Linked DNA regions of Homo sapiens: region 2 is linked to region 1. Evidence: promoter capture Hi-C in 16 types of primary human blood cells and fetal thymus (Javierre and others, 2016). All regions are on one chromosome and are shown on one strand. Each heading gives the region's core, a stretch centred on a gene start or on the middle of the fragment in contact. The rest is flanking DNA. Distances are from core to core; before and after follow the strand shown.

Evidence for each region. The method cuts DNA at HindIII sites, captures the fragments that hold promoters and counts their contacts. A CHiCAGO score of 5 or more calls a contact.
Region 2: a contact is called between a fragment that was not itself captured here and the fragment with the promoter of SCML1 in region 1, in 1 of 17 cell types (total B cells). The highest score is 5.4, in total B cells.

Annotation. Positions count from the first base shown.
Region 1 is chrX:17,736,043-17,741,939 of GRCh38, forward strand. It overlaps SCML1 (Scm polycomb group protein like 1), which reads left to right and starts at 1,451. Exons shown (of 8, transcript NM_001037540.3): 1 at 1,451-1,638. The HindIII fragment of the contact is 866 bases long and covers 981-1,846 here.
Region 2 is chrX:18,989,464-18,995,360 of GRCh38, forward strand. ADGRG2 (adhesion G protein-coupled receptor G2) reads right to left here. Exons shown (of 29, transcript NM_001079858.3): 28 at 5,433-5,585; 29 at 1-1,585. The coding sequence ends at 1,401. All of the region lies in intron 2 of LOC101928415 (a long non-coding RNA gene), which reads left to right. Among named protein-coding and RNA genes, the nearest start is that of PHKA2, 8.3 kb to the left of the region's middle. The HindIII fragment of the contact is 3,047 bases long and covers 1,424-4,470 here.

The DNA of each region.
Region 1 (5,897 bases), core at 201-2,700:
GCAACAGTGTTTTACAGGCAACAGGACATAAGGGCAGGGTCTGTTATGGCAAAAGTAGGAGCAAAAAGAACATAGACCAGCCTGTCCAACATGGTGAAACCCGTCTCTACTAAAAATACAAAAATTAGCTGGGCATGGTGGCAGACGCCTGTAATCCCAGCTACTCTGGAGGCTGAGGCAGGAGAATCGCTTGAACCCAGGAGGCAGAGGTTGCAGTGAGCCGAGATCACACCGCTACACTCCAGCCTGGGCAACAAGAGCAAAACTCCGTCTCAAACAAAAACAAAAACAAAAAAAAAACATATACTATATCTATAATGGGCTTTAATCTAGCTTCGTATTTGAGAGGAAAAATGATACATTTCCAACGTCCAGTATACTTTCTTTGTAGCTCCTCTCTGGGCCAAGAAAAGATGTATAGCTTTACTTTGAAATATCTGCCTGCTTTGCTTCTGATAATTACTCAGACTGTGTCTCCTTCCCAAGATGAGCAGCCTCGATATAAGTATGTAAGACTATATGCCACTAGATGATGTCACATAGCCTTTATTACAATAGCAAAATTCTATGCCAGGTACTGTTCTAAGTGCTTTGCATACATTAACTCATGTAGTCCCCATATTATACCCATTTTACAGATGGGGAAACCGAAGCACAAAGCGGTTACTTGGCTTGCCTAAGGCCATAGGAGGACTGTGTTGGAGCTGGGGGTCCAATCCAGTAAATCTGCCTTCAAGGTCTGCGTTAGTTCCCCAGTCCAACTTGTGGGTGCTGGAGACTGGAAATATCTTGCCCGCCCCCCACCCTGGCCCCCCTCGCCCTTCCTACCAGACCTGGCTCAGGGCAACTGCTAAGGCCCCGCCCCTCTCCTCATTCCAAGTCAATCACTGGCGTGCGTCCAGGAAACCCAGTTTACGACGACGTCTCTGGTGCGTCACAGAGCGCGGGGGAGGGGCGGGATCACATTAAAAAAAAAAAAAAGCTTCGGACACCCCAACAACGAAGGGGGGACACCACGTCCCTAACTACAACGCCACTAGAAGGGTTGCGCATGCGCGCCAGCCTCCTGCGCAGCCGCAGAAACCACTCAGCGCGCGAGTCTCTGAAAGGCCTAACGTCCATTTTCAATCCTGCGGGTCTTGCGAAGGAAAACCTGAGGTAAGAGGCCCCGCCCCACAGCCATCTCCTCAGCAAATTCCCGCCCTCGGCCCCGCCCCACAGCTATCTCCTCAGCAAATTCCCGCCCTCGGCCCCGCCCCACAGCCATCTCCTTAGCAAATTCCCGCCCTCACCCAAGGACTGGGAGAGCACCCGCGGATTGGCCGATCAACGGTGACGCCTGTCAGTGGCCAGACTCCGATTGGTCAGCGGGTAGTCCCGCCCCCCCCCCCCCCCCCCCCCCCCCCAACCGCGAGTGTGGGAATTCGGCGTCGCGGGAGCTCTCTGATCCACTCAGGGGTCAGGGCATCACTGGTCTCGCGTGCGCGTGACCAGGCCCGGTTTCCGGTGCCAGGACCTTTCCGAAGCGTCGAGTGGCCTAACGGTCACAGCTGTCGCCCATCGGAGAGGCAGGACTACTGCGAGCAGTTTTACCGCGACCTCCGGAGGCCGGCGTGACAGGCTCTGTCACTAAAATAGGTCTGTCCAGTCGTACTTTTTCCTCACCTTGAACTTTCCGTCACGGGAATACACGATTTGGCTTAGGGGCCGGGGCTCTCCTGAGGAGAGAGGGTTTGCTTTGCGGGGAAGAGCGAGTCTTGACTTCGCAGCCTCCAATTTCAGCCGCGGTGTGGAGGGGGGTGCTTTGGGTGGTCCCCACAGCCTTTCCGGAGTGCCCGCGCGTGTAAGCTTTTGAGATTTGACAATTTGTGAAGTGCTTGGTGCTGACTTTCGGGGACGACAGGATCCTTTTACAGTCATTCTCCTGTCAGGGGAGGCAGGTGGGGAGCGAGGAAGGATCCAGATTTCGTTAACAGAGCTTTGAGTTTAAAGAATTGACAAACTCCCGAGTTGATTTCCTGTCAGACCTTTTGCGGTTGAGACATAGAGTCTGAGGCTTTGATGGTAACCGCGTTTGATTTAGAGACAGACTGTGCAGCTTCGCTGTTTTATTGTAAATACGTAAATGAGGAGGAAGAGAAAAACGTAGGGTGTTGGGAGCAGAGGCGGGAGGCGGGAGATCCTGCGAAATCGGAGTCCCTTTGGAGTGGGGGAGGCCGTCGAGGCGTGCGAGGGCCCGGCCCCCTTGCCGCGTGGTCGTTAACAGGAAAGGCCCTGATTTGGTTGGTGGCGGATCGCGTCCCTCCCTCCTCTCCCCGGCTCTCCCCGAGTGCGGCAAACTGGCTTCAGGTTGACTAAAAGATAGCGATTTTCCAAGCAGCTTTGCCGCGCGGTGTTTTCTAAAGCGGGGCGTGGGCTGGGTGCCCTTTTGGGCCTCACTTGTCCGGCCTGCGGCAAGTGCTGGGCGATGGGATGCGGTTCTGGCGGCAAAGGAAGGGCTGCCTTTGAGAGTCCCGCAGGAAGGTTTAGAAAGTGATTGTTCTTAAAACAAACAGAGCGTTTTGCTGTGTGTTCCTCAAAGTGGTCCCGGTGGGAGTGGCGCCTCATTGTGAGCTGTGCCTTATCTGATGAATTAATGGCAGGTGAAAGCCTTGCGCCTCCGGAGCGAATATTTACGACTTTTGAAAATGTCTTTAATGTCTAAAAAAAGTCTTTTAGAAAATCAGACGGCCTCTTGTTCTTATGTTATCAAGAGTTTAGATTTCTGTGGTAAATATAAGTGAGTTTCATTTTAAGTAAACTCATTTTACGAGATTTGAGATTTGAAAGTGAAATTAATTAATTTTGCACAATCTAGCCTTGGGCTCTGAGAAAATGTTGTAAAGCTGTAATTAATCTTGTGGGACGAAGTGAAAAGGAACTAAAGTGTATGGTGTAATGAATAGTTTAAATTTCTGTGGTAAATACAAGTGAGTTTCATTTTAAGTAAACTCATTTTTATGGGATTTGAGATTTAAAAGTGAAATTAATTAATTTCGCACAATCTAGTCATGGTTGGGCTCAGAAAATGTTGTAAAGTTGTGATTTATCTTATGGAAAGAAGTGAAAAGGAATTAAGGTATATGGTGTAATTAAGAGTTTAAATTTCTGTGGTAAATGCAAGTGAGTTTCATTTTAAGTAAACTCATTTTTACGGGATTTGAGATTTAAAAGTGAAATTAATTCATTTTGCACAGTGTAGTCATGGTTGGGCTCTGAGAAAATGTTGTAAAGCTGAAATTATTTATCTTGTGGGAAGAAGTGAGAAGAAACTAAAATGTGTGGTATTATCAAGAGTTTAGATTTCCGGGGTAAATATAAATGAGTTTCCTTTAAACTCATTTTTGTGGAATTTGAGGTTTAAAAGTGAAATTAATTTTGTAGAATCTAGTCATGGTTGGGCTCTGAGAAAATGTTGTAAAGCTGTAATTTATCTTGTGGGAAAAAGTGAAAAGGAACTTAAATTTATGGTGTTATCAAGAATTGGCCAGGCGCGGTGGCTCACACCTGTAATCCCAGCACTTTGGGAGGCCGAGGTGGGCAGATCACTTGAGGTCAGAAGTTCGGGACCAGCCTGGCCAACATGGTGAAACCCAGTCTTTACTAAAAGTACAAAAATTAACTGGGCATGGTGGTGCAAGCCTGTTACGCTAACTACTCGGGAGGCTGAGGGAGGAGAATTGCTTTAACCCGGGAGGCAGAGGTTGCAGTAAGCCGAGATCATGCCACTGCACTCCAGCCTGGGTGACAGAGTAAGACTCTGTCTCAAAAAAAAAAAAAAAAAAAAAAGAAATTTAGATTTCTGTGGTAAATATAAATGAGTTTCATTTTAAGTAAACTCATTTTGTGGGATTTGAGATTTAAAAATGAAATTAATTTTGCACATTCTAGTCATGGTTGGGCTCTAAGGCAATGTTGTAAAGCTGTAATTGTTTGCCTTATGGGAAGAAGTGAAAAGGAATTAAAATTTATGGTGTGTCTACTATGAACCAGGCATGATGCTGAGAGTTTAACTGTGTAATTTTTGGCCTAAATAGCCCTGTGAAGTAGATATTATTCCAACTTTACAGGTTAGAAAATTTGAGGCACAGAGAGGTGAAATATTTGCCTAAAGTGAAACGGCAAATTTGGCAATTTGGACTTGGATTCAAGTGTTTATAACTAAAGCCCAGCTCCTTGCATCATACCCTGGTACCTAAAAGACATAAAAACTCACTTCAGGTGCAATGTGAATGAAAATGACGTTATGACCCAGGCTTGTTGTCTATGTGCTCCTTGAGAAATAGTTCTGTTGGATAGATGCGGTCAATACTCAAAAGCCCTTGCTATCTTTGCCATGCATTACTCTAAGCACTTGACATGTATTAATTTAATCCTCACGATTCCGTGAGGTATGTGCTATTATCATTCCCATTTTACAGACAAAAAAAAAAAAGGATTTAAGTAAGTTGTTCAACTTACTTACACAGCTAGTATGTGGGGGAGGTGGGACCCAAACCCAGGTATTCTGACCACAAGCCTAAGGTCTTAATGCTGTTTGATGCTGCCTCTCATGTAACCAGATATGTGTGACAGTTGCCGTAGAAGTATTAAAGTGTGAGTGTTATTGTAGTTCAGGGAAAGCCGTGTCACATCCACATGGGATGATCATTGGCATGGTGCCCTTGCTTTTTGGAGGTGAAACTTGAAGTAAGCCTTGAAGTTGAATAGATTCTCCTAGGCGGAGACACAACAGGGTATTATGGACGGAGGGCATAACAGGAGCGAGAAGCTCAAAGAGTGAAAGATTGGTGTTGATTTGTATATGTACCAGAGATGTAAACATGTTGGGAGTCCAGTGGTGGACTCACTGCACAGTGCTCCTGTGTCTAACTACAGCCAAATTTTGACAACATTGTTATTAATCCAAATAGGGAGTTCTCTGTTCTCTGGATGTAAGAGCTTGTAACCATTGTCTGCAAACTTGCCTGAAACAGGCTACACAGTAAATATTTTAGGCTTAGAACTGCTGTCCCCAGTCTTTTTGGCACCAGGAACCGGTTTTGGTTTTGTGGAAGACAATTTTTCCACAGATGCAGGGACGGGGGAGTGCTAGCGGGGTATAGTTTCCTAATGAAACTGTTTCATAAGGAGAGTGCAACCTAGATCCCTCGCATGTGCAGTTCACAATAGGGTTTGTGCTCCTGTGCGAATCTAATACTGCAGCTCATCTGACAGGAGGCGGAGCTCAGGCGATAATCCTTGCTAGCTCCTGCTGTGCTCCTAACAGGCCAAGGACCAGTACCAGGCGGTTGCCCAGGGGTTGGGGACCCCTGGCTTAGAGTAAAGGGGCAAGTGGTAAGAAGTGACCTCTGCGCAGTGGGCGGGGTCCTGATTATGGAAGGACCTTGCAGGCCATGGTAGGAGTTTGGATTTTACTGTGTTATTGGTAGCAAAGGTATACCAGGTGATTTTAATAATGAAGTAAAGTGCATAGAGTGTGGTGGTAGACTGCACCATTTACTAGCAATGGGACCTGGGCAAATTACTTAAATCAAGCTTGTCCAACCCGCCTTATTTTGTTGTTGTCGTCATTGTTGTTGTTCTGTTTTGTTTTGTTTTAGGCTTTCGGCAGCCTGAAGCTATGCTTTTTAGTTTCTGTCTCTAGGGATAAGTGGAAAAGAGGGATGAGGAAGGGGCTTTCCTGGCCCAACCAGAAACAAACTAAGAACCCATGACTATATTCCCTCCCTTGGACACCCCTAGTAAACGTTCTTTGCTTCAGTTTCCTCATAAGGAAAATGAGGACAGTAATAGAACCTATCCCACAGGGTTGTCAGTAATTTAGCAAGATAGAATACCTAATCAAAGAATCAAAA
Region 2 (5,897 bases), core at 1,697-4,196, 1.3 Mb after region 1:
ACATTCACTTGAAATATATGCAAGAGAACCTTAGTGAAAGACTTAACTAAAAGGGGTTTGAAATGTTCCTAATAAGGATGTACTTGAGGCACTGCTCAAGCAGATGTAGGTAGGAAGCAAGATAGACCCTGTATATAACTAGGAGCAATCAAGGCTCGATACATGTAGCAACAATAGCAGTGTAGGACAGTTCCCTGTTCCCAATAGCTACTCCCCTTGTCACTGTGCATTCTTCAAGACACATTTAAAAAACAATTATAGCTCTGGCTGGGCCAGAGTGTACCAGTCATAACAATCAACAATGTACCATGCAGTTGCCTTTTAAAGAACGGCAATATGATTTTTTTCCATATATATGTACCTTTTTAAGAGAAGGAATCCTAGTCTACTCTCCTGTTCCTAAAGGCTCTGGGGATTTGAGAAGCGGCAGTGTATGTACCTCATCTACGTTCACAATTTTCCTGACACATGGTCTGGATGACAGTTCATCCCTCTCTGTGGCCAAGGTATAAAGCTAAACATCTTGGTGCAGATTCTATAATCTGACTACTGGGGATGCGGTCAGGGGATGGGTATTCATATTGGATGCTGTGTTTGGCTGTACAGGTCGTGCACCCAAGAGGGTGAGTGGGGCTAAAATATGGTCTCTCCACTCTGTTTGTCAAACCATGAGCCCATAGGGCTGTGTCTGCCCAGTGGGGGCATCTTTTCCTAACTTGCTCAAAGGCACTGTATGAGCTAACTGTGGCACTGTCTGCTTACATTTTCTCAGTCTGGCTGGGATCATTATTTCTTGATTTCACTGAGGTTTCTGTATTTCACATCCTATATCATCTCCAAAAGGAGCTTTAGGATTTGCGGAACGAGCAAGGATTTTCTGAATTATCACGTGAGACAAAACAACCATGATTCTACAAAGGAATACATTTACACAGTAGAAAATAAATACAAAAAAATGTAGAAGTAAGATTTTTGACACATGGGTCACTAGAATTTAGCTTATATACAACAAAGGCATGCACAACTAAACTCACCAACAGGCTGAAGTCAACAGTTGCTTTATATGATGTTATCAAAGATAACTTAGCCTCTTTAAAAGGTAGCTGAAAGTTCACTACCTTTTTTTGTTTTCTTTATAGGAGTCATTCTTAGTGTATTGTTTAAAACCAACCTTCTTATAAAATGAAAGATAAGAAACCAAATCAGAAATGTCTAAAAACCATGGTGTAATGTCTTGGTTTCTTCTTGTAATAATAATCATCGCCCTTAATTAGCTTATGCTTCTCCAGATGTTGCCGAGAATAAAATGAGTTGATTTTCATACATCTCACATTGTGTAAAAGGTAAAATTGGACATTTCACACTGTCAAGCATCATGCTTTGATTTTAGAAGAAAGGAATCACATTTGCTCAATAAAGTGTAAGCTTCCCCGCTTTGAAGTCCTTCTGAGAGCCATACGGCCTTTCCCATTGCAGGAATCTTCCTTCTCGTTAAACATGTGCTGTTTTCCAGTGAAATCGTGAAGGCACACATCTCCATTCTGAACACTAAAAGAGACCCCATTCCTCTCTGTAGAAGCATTTCCTGTATAAGGAAACACAAAGCGGGTGGCATGAAGTATCCACAGAAAGCATTAAAAAGCAAACAAACTTAGACATTGCTTTATTCTTAAAGATGTATTTGTAAAATATGTTTTTAAAAACATTTGTGATATATGTTCATATTTTATTTATTTTTCATTACTTCCCTAAGGCCACTCAAAGTAAGCATACCAAAGTGGAGATTGCTTCAGAAACCAGTTCTCTATGGCAGTTTTTTTTTTGTTTGGTTTTTAATGAAACAGTCAAAATCTGAAGCAAGGTAATATATTAATAAAAGGCCCACTTCCTAACTCTGGTTGGATATGTTTTGACTTCAAGTAGCAGCATATGTATAATATAAGCTAAGGTAATACTTTGGTCTCCCAAAAGGTTAATGTTAACAGAGATCCCCATATGTACCCTTAGGAAGTTCTTGGTTCCCTAGGTTCCTATAAAATGAAACTTTGTACCAGAGAAACCAGAGCAACCAGCTACAACAGTCATGGCAAGAAGAAATCATCTCTCTTGTAGATTAAACCAGCTCCTCTGACTAAATCAGGACAGGACAAATTCCCAAGAGGAAACTACCAATTCCAACTTCAGAGTCCAGGCCAGGGAGCAGCTGGGCACTCAAGGGTAACTGTTGGTTTGGACGTGGGCCTTCCCCACCCCAAGCAGGCCCTGAGTTATAGGGGAGCACAGGTGCTGGCCTCCTCTAGTTACTTGGCACCATCCTTCTGATCATTAGACCATTGGGAGACTATACACAAAGCTGAATAATAAGCCCATTTGATAGTTCATGACATGATTATGATAACAATGATCATAACAGTACTGGGACACTTTATTATCTCATTTAGAGCCCTGCAGGGTGGGTACTACTGTTATCCCCATTTTGCAGATGAGGAAACGAAGGTTTCAGAAATTAAGTGCTCTCCCCAAGGTCACACAGCTCAGAAGTAATGGAGTTGACGTGTGATGTTGCTTCCAAACTGTGATCCTTGTGGTCCTGGGTACCAAATGAGATGGCTGCTGGTACCCCACCCTCTAAGGCAGCTCAGAACTGAACTGTGTAATATTCATGCAAACTAGGTGATGAATATGGTTAACGTAGCTCCATCTGTGACACAGATCAAATAGGGCATGTGACTGTCTGAGGCAGCTGTTTGGATTTAGGCATTTCGGCTTGAGGACATTTTGGTGCAAGAACAATTTGGTCTGGCATAATAAATCATTAAACTTCTAGCTTTTTTTGTTGTTGTTGAGACGGAGTCTCGTTCTGTCGCCCATGCTGGAGTGCAGTGGTGAGATCTAGGCTCACTGCAACTTCTGTCTCCTGGGTTCAAGCGATTCTCCTGCCTCAGCTTCCTGAGTAGCTGGGACTACAGGTGTGTGCCACCACGTCTGGTTGATTTTCACATTTTTTATTAGAGATGGAGTTTTTCCATGTTGGCCAGGCTGGTCTTGAACTCCTGACCTCAGGTGATCCTCCTAACTTAGCCTCCCAAAGTGCTGGGATTACAGGTGTGAGCCACTGCGCCCAGCCCTAGCTTTCTTTTTTGAAATTGCCAATTCCATTCCTCATCTATCCCAGATGCTGGGGCAAGGACTGAGGAGTCAGGAATGGTTATCTGACATGCATATTATGTGATATTAAACACTGAGCCATTTTGGCAGCCTTAAAATGTACCCCCATCCTCACCGTCAAGCATCAAAAGTAGCTGTGTCAAATCAGCTGTGTTAAACAACTGTGGTAAAATGTGCTGTTTCCATGAAATCTGATTTCCCAAAGGATGACAACATGTTGATAGAGCTAGGCAGGTGAGGCTTCATCTCTGAGCTCTTTCGAGAATATGGACAAATCTGGTTTATGGATTCAGAGCCCCAGATGACCCTGCTCGCTCCTTTGATGTCTCTCCTTTCAATTTGCTTTCTCACACTAACGTACTAACCAGCTGTGCTCCCCGCTGCCTCGCCTCTGTTTACCTACATTGAATCATTCCTGATAGAGCTATTTGGTGTAGAGCCCAGAGCTTGCTTTCTGGTATCGACAGTAAAGAGCTAAGGCTATACAACAGTTATTTCTCATCTTTTACAGCAGTGATTCTCAACTGGGGGCAATCTTGCTCCCTTCTTCTCCCCGCTCCCCTGGGACAGTTGGCAGTGTCTGGGGACATTTTGGGTTGTCATAACTGGGGGCAGGGTGCTACTGGCTCTAGTTGATAGAGTCCAGGGATCCTGCTAAATGTCCTGCAATTCCACAAAAAAGAATTATCCAGCCCCAAAATGTCAATTGTGCTTGAAGTTGAGAAACCTTGATTTTGAGGCATCCTATGGTATTTTAAAAGCCTAGACAGGCCGGGCACAGTGGCTCACACCTGTAATCCCAGCACTTTGGGAGGCTGAGGCGGGAGGATCACTTGAGCCCAGGAGTTTGAGACCAACCTGGACAACACAGCAAGACTGCATCTTAAAAAAAAAAAAAAATTAGCCAGCCATGGTGGCATGCTCCTACAGTCCCAGCTACTCGGGTGGCTGAGGTGGGAGGATCACTTGAGCCTGGGAGGTCGAGGCTGCAGTGAACCGTGATCATACCACTGAACTCCAGCCTGGGCAATAGGAGACCTTGTCATAAAAAAAAAGAAAAAAAAAAAAAAAAGTCTAGACACACCAGCAGGACTGCCCATCTTCAGGAAACGGGAAAACTGGTAGATGTATGAACCTTCTCACAAATTTATTTGAGTTAGTCATGAAAAGAACTAACATCCTAAAACAATGAATACAGGCAAATTCTCCATGGAAGGAGAAACTATACCAGCAGAGCTTATGTTTTTATAAGAATGCAAAAGATATATTAAGAAGCAAGAGAAGGTAAAAATAGATAAGGTAAGCTTTTATGAGTAATGAACAGCCTGGTCTTATGAAAGAAAGAAAATGTAACAGAAGTTTTAGCTAGAAATGTCAGAATTAATGAGTAAAGGAGGCATGGCAGCAATAATCTGTTCAGATATTGGTCACATATATGGTCACCAATACTGGTCACAAGTCATCTTCCAGTATTTTGACATATTCATGGGGATTTGGGTGCTGTCACAAGACAGCCACATTGTGGGAAAGAATTAACAAACATGAAAAGCAAAAAATAGGAAGGTTTAAAAGTGTTGGCTGGGCGCGGTGGCTCACACCTGTAATCCCAGCACTTTGGGAGGCCGAGGTGGGCAAATCACTTGTGGTCAGGAGCTCGAGACTAGCCTGGCCAACATGGTGAAACCTGTCTCTACTAAAAATACAAAAATTAGCTGGGCATCGTGGCGGTCACCTGTAGGTCACCTGTAATTCCAGCTACTCGGGAGGCTGAGGCAGAATTGCTGGAACCCAGGAGGTGGAGGTTGCAGTGAGCTGAGATTGCACCATTGCACTCCAGCCTGGGCAACAAGAGTGAGACTCCATCTCAAAAAAAAAAAATGTTGAACATGTATATTATGATAGATGTAATAAAAATTGCTATAGTCTTATCAGCTATTTTAGGTACTGCTCTCACAGAAATAGCACAATACTGAAGTCTTTGGACAATAGTTAAGTGAGGATTTAAAATGTTAAAATTTTTAGGTCATCATCAATTCCCACTATGAAAAACCAAATCTTAAAAAATCGTTGTTCCAGTATTTGCTCTATAATAAATCAATTTGGATTAGTAAACTTTCTCTTCTGTAAGGGAACCACATTTTGATCCACTAGTCATATATGTATTAATAGTTACTCACTTTGCTTAGCCAAAATGCCAATAAAGGATAAAACTATTTTAAAAAATAAACACTAGCTTGAGAAATACTATATTGAGACATACATACCATTCCCGCTTGCGTGTACTGAGCAATCATTATTCACTAGCAGTGTGGTGGAGTTAGTGGAGTTACTGCTTGACTGTAAGGAATTTGAAGAGCTGGACACTCCTTGGTTTACAGTCTGCTTCTTTAAACCATTAGTAGCAGTTTTACTCCAGTCTACAGCAGAATAAGCATTACAGAAAAACAGGGCAGTATGTTGAAGCTCAAACGCAAGAGACAGATCACAGTGTAACAAGTCCTAAGCAACTGATTTCTCACTTCAGGATCTTATGGAGAAGTCACCTTCCACCAGTTGGTGTGATAACATGTATTTTCATTTGGATTATTTACATTTGTCCTTCAAATGACTGTGGGGTTAAAAGTAACCTATATTCTCCTAGAACTAAAGGCCAAGCTAATTTGATTATGTCTATAAATATCCATAGAATTAGGTAGTGATTCAGAGCCTCACACTGTCTTAACAAGAAC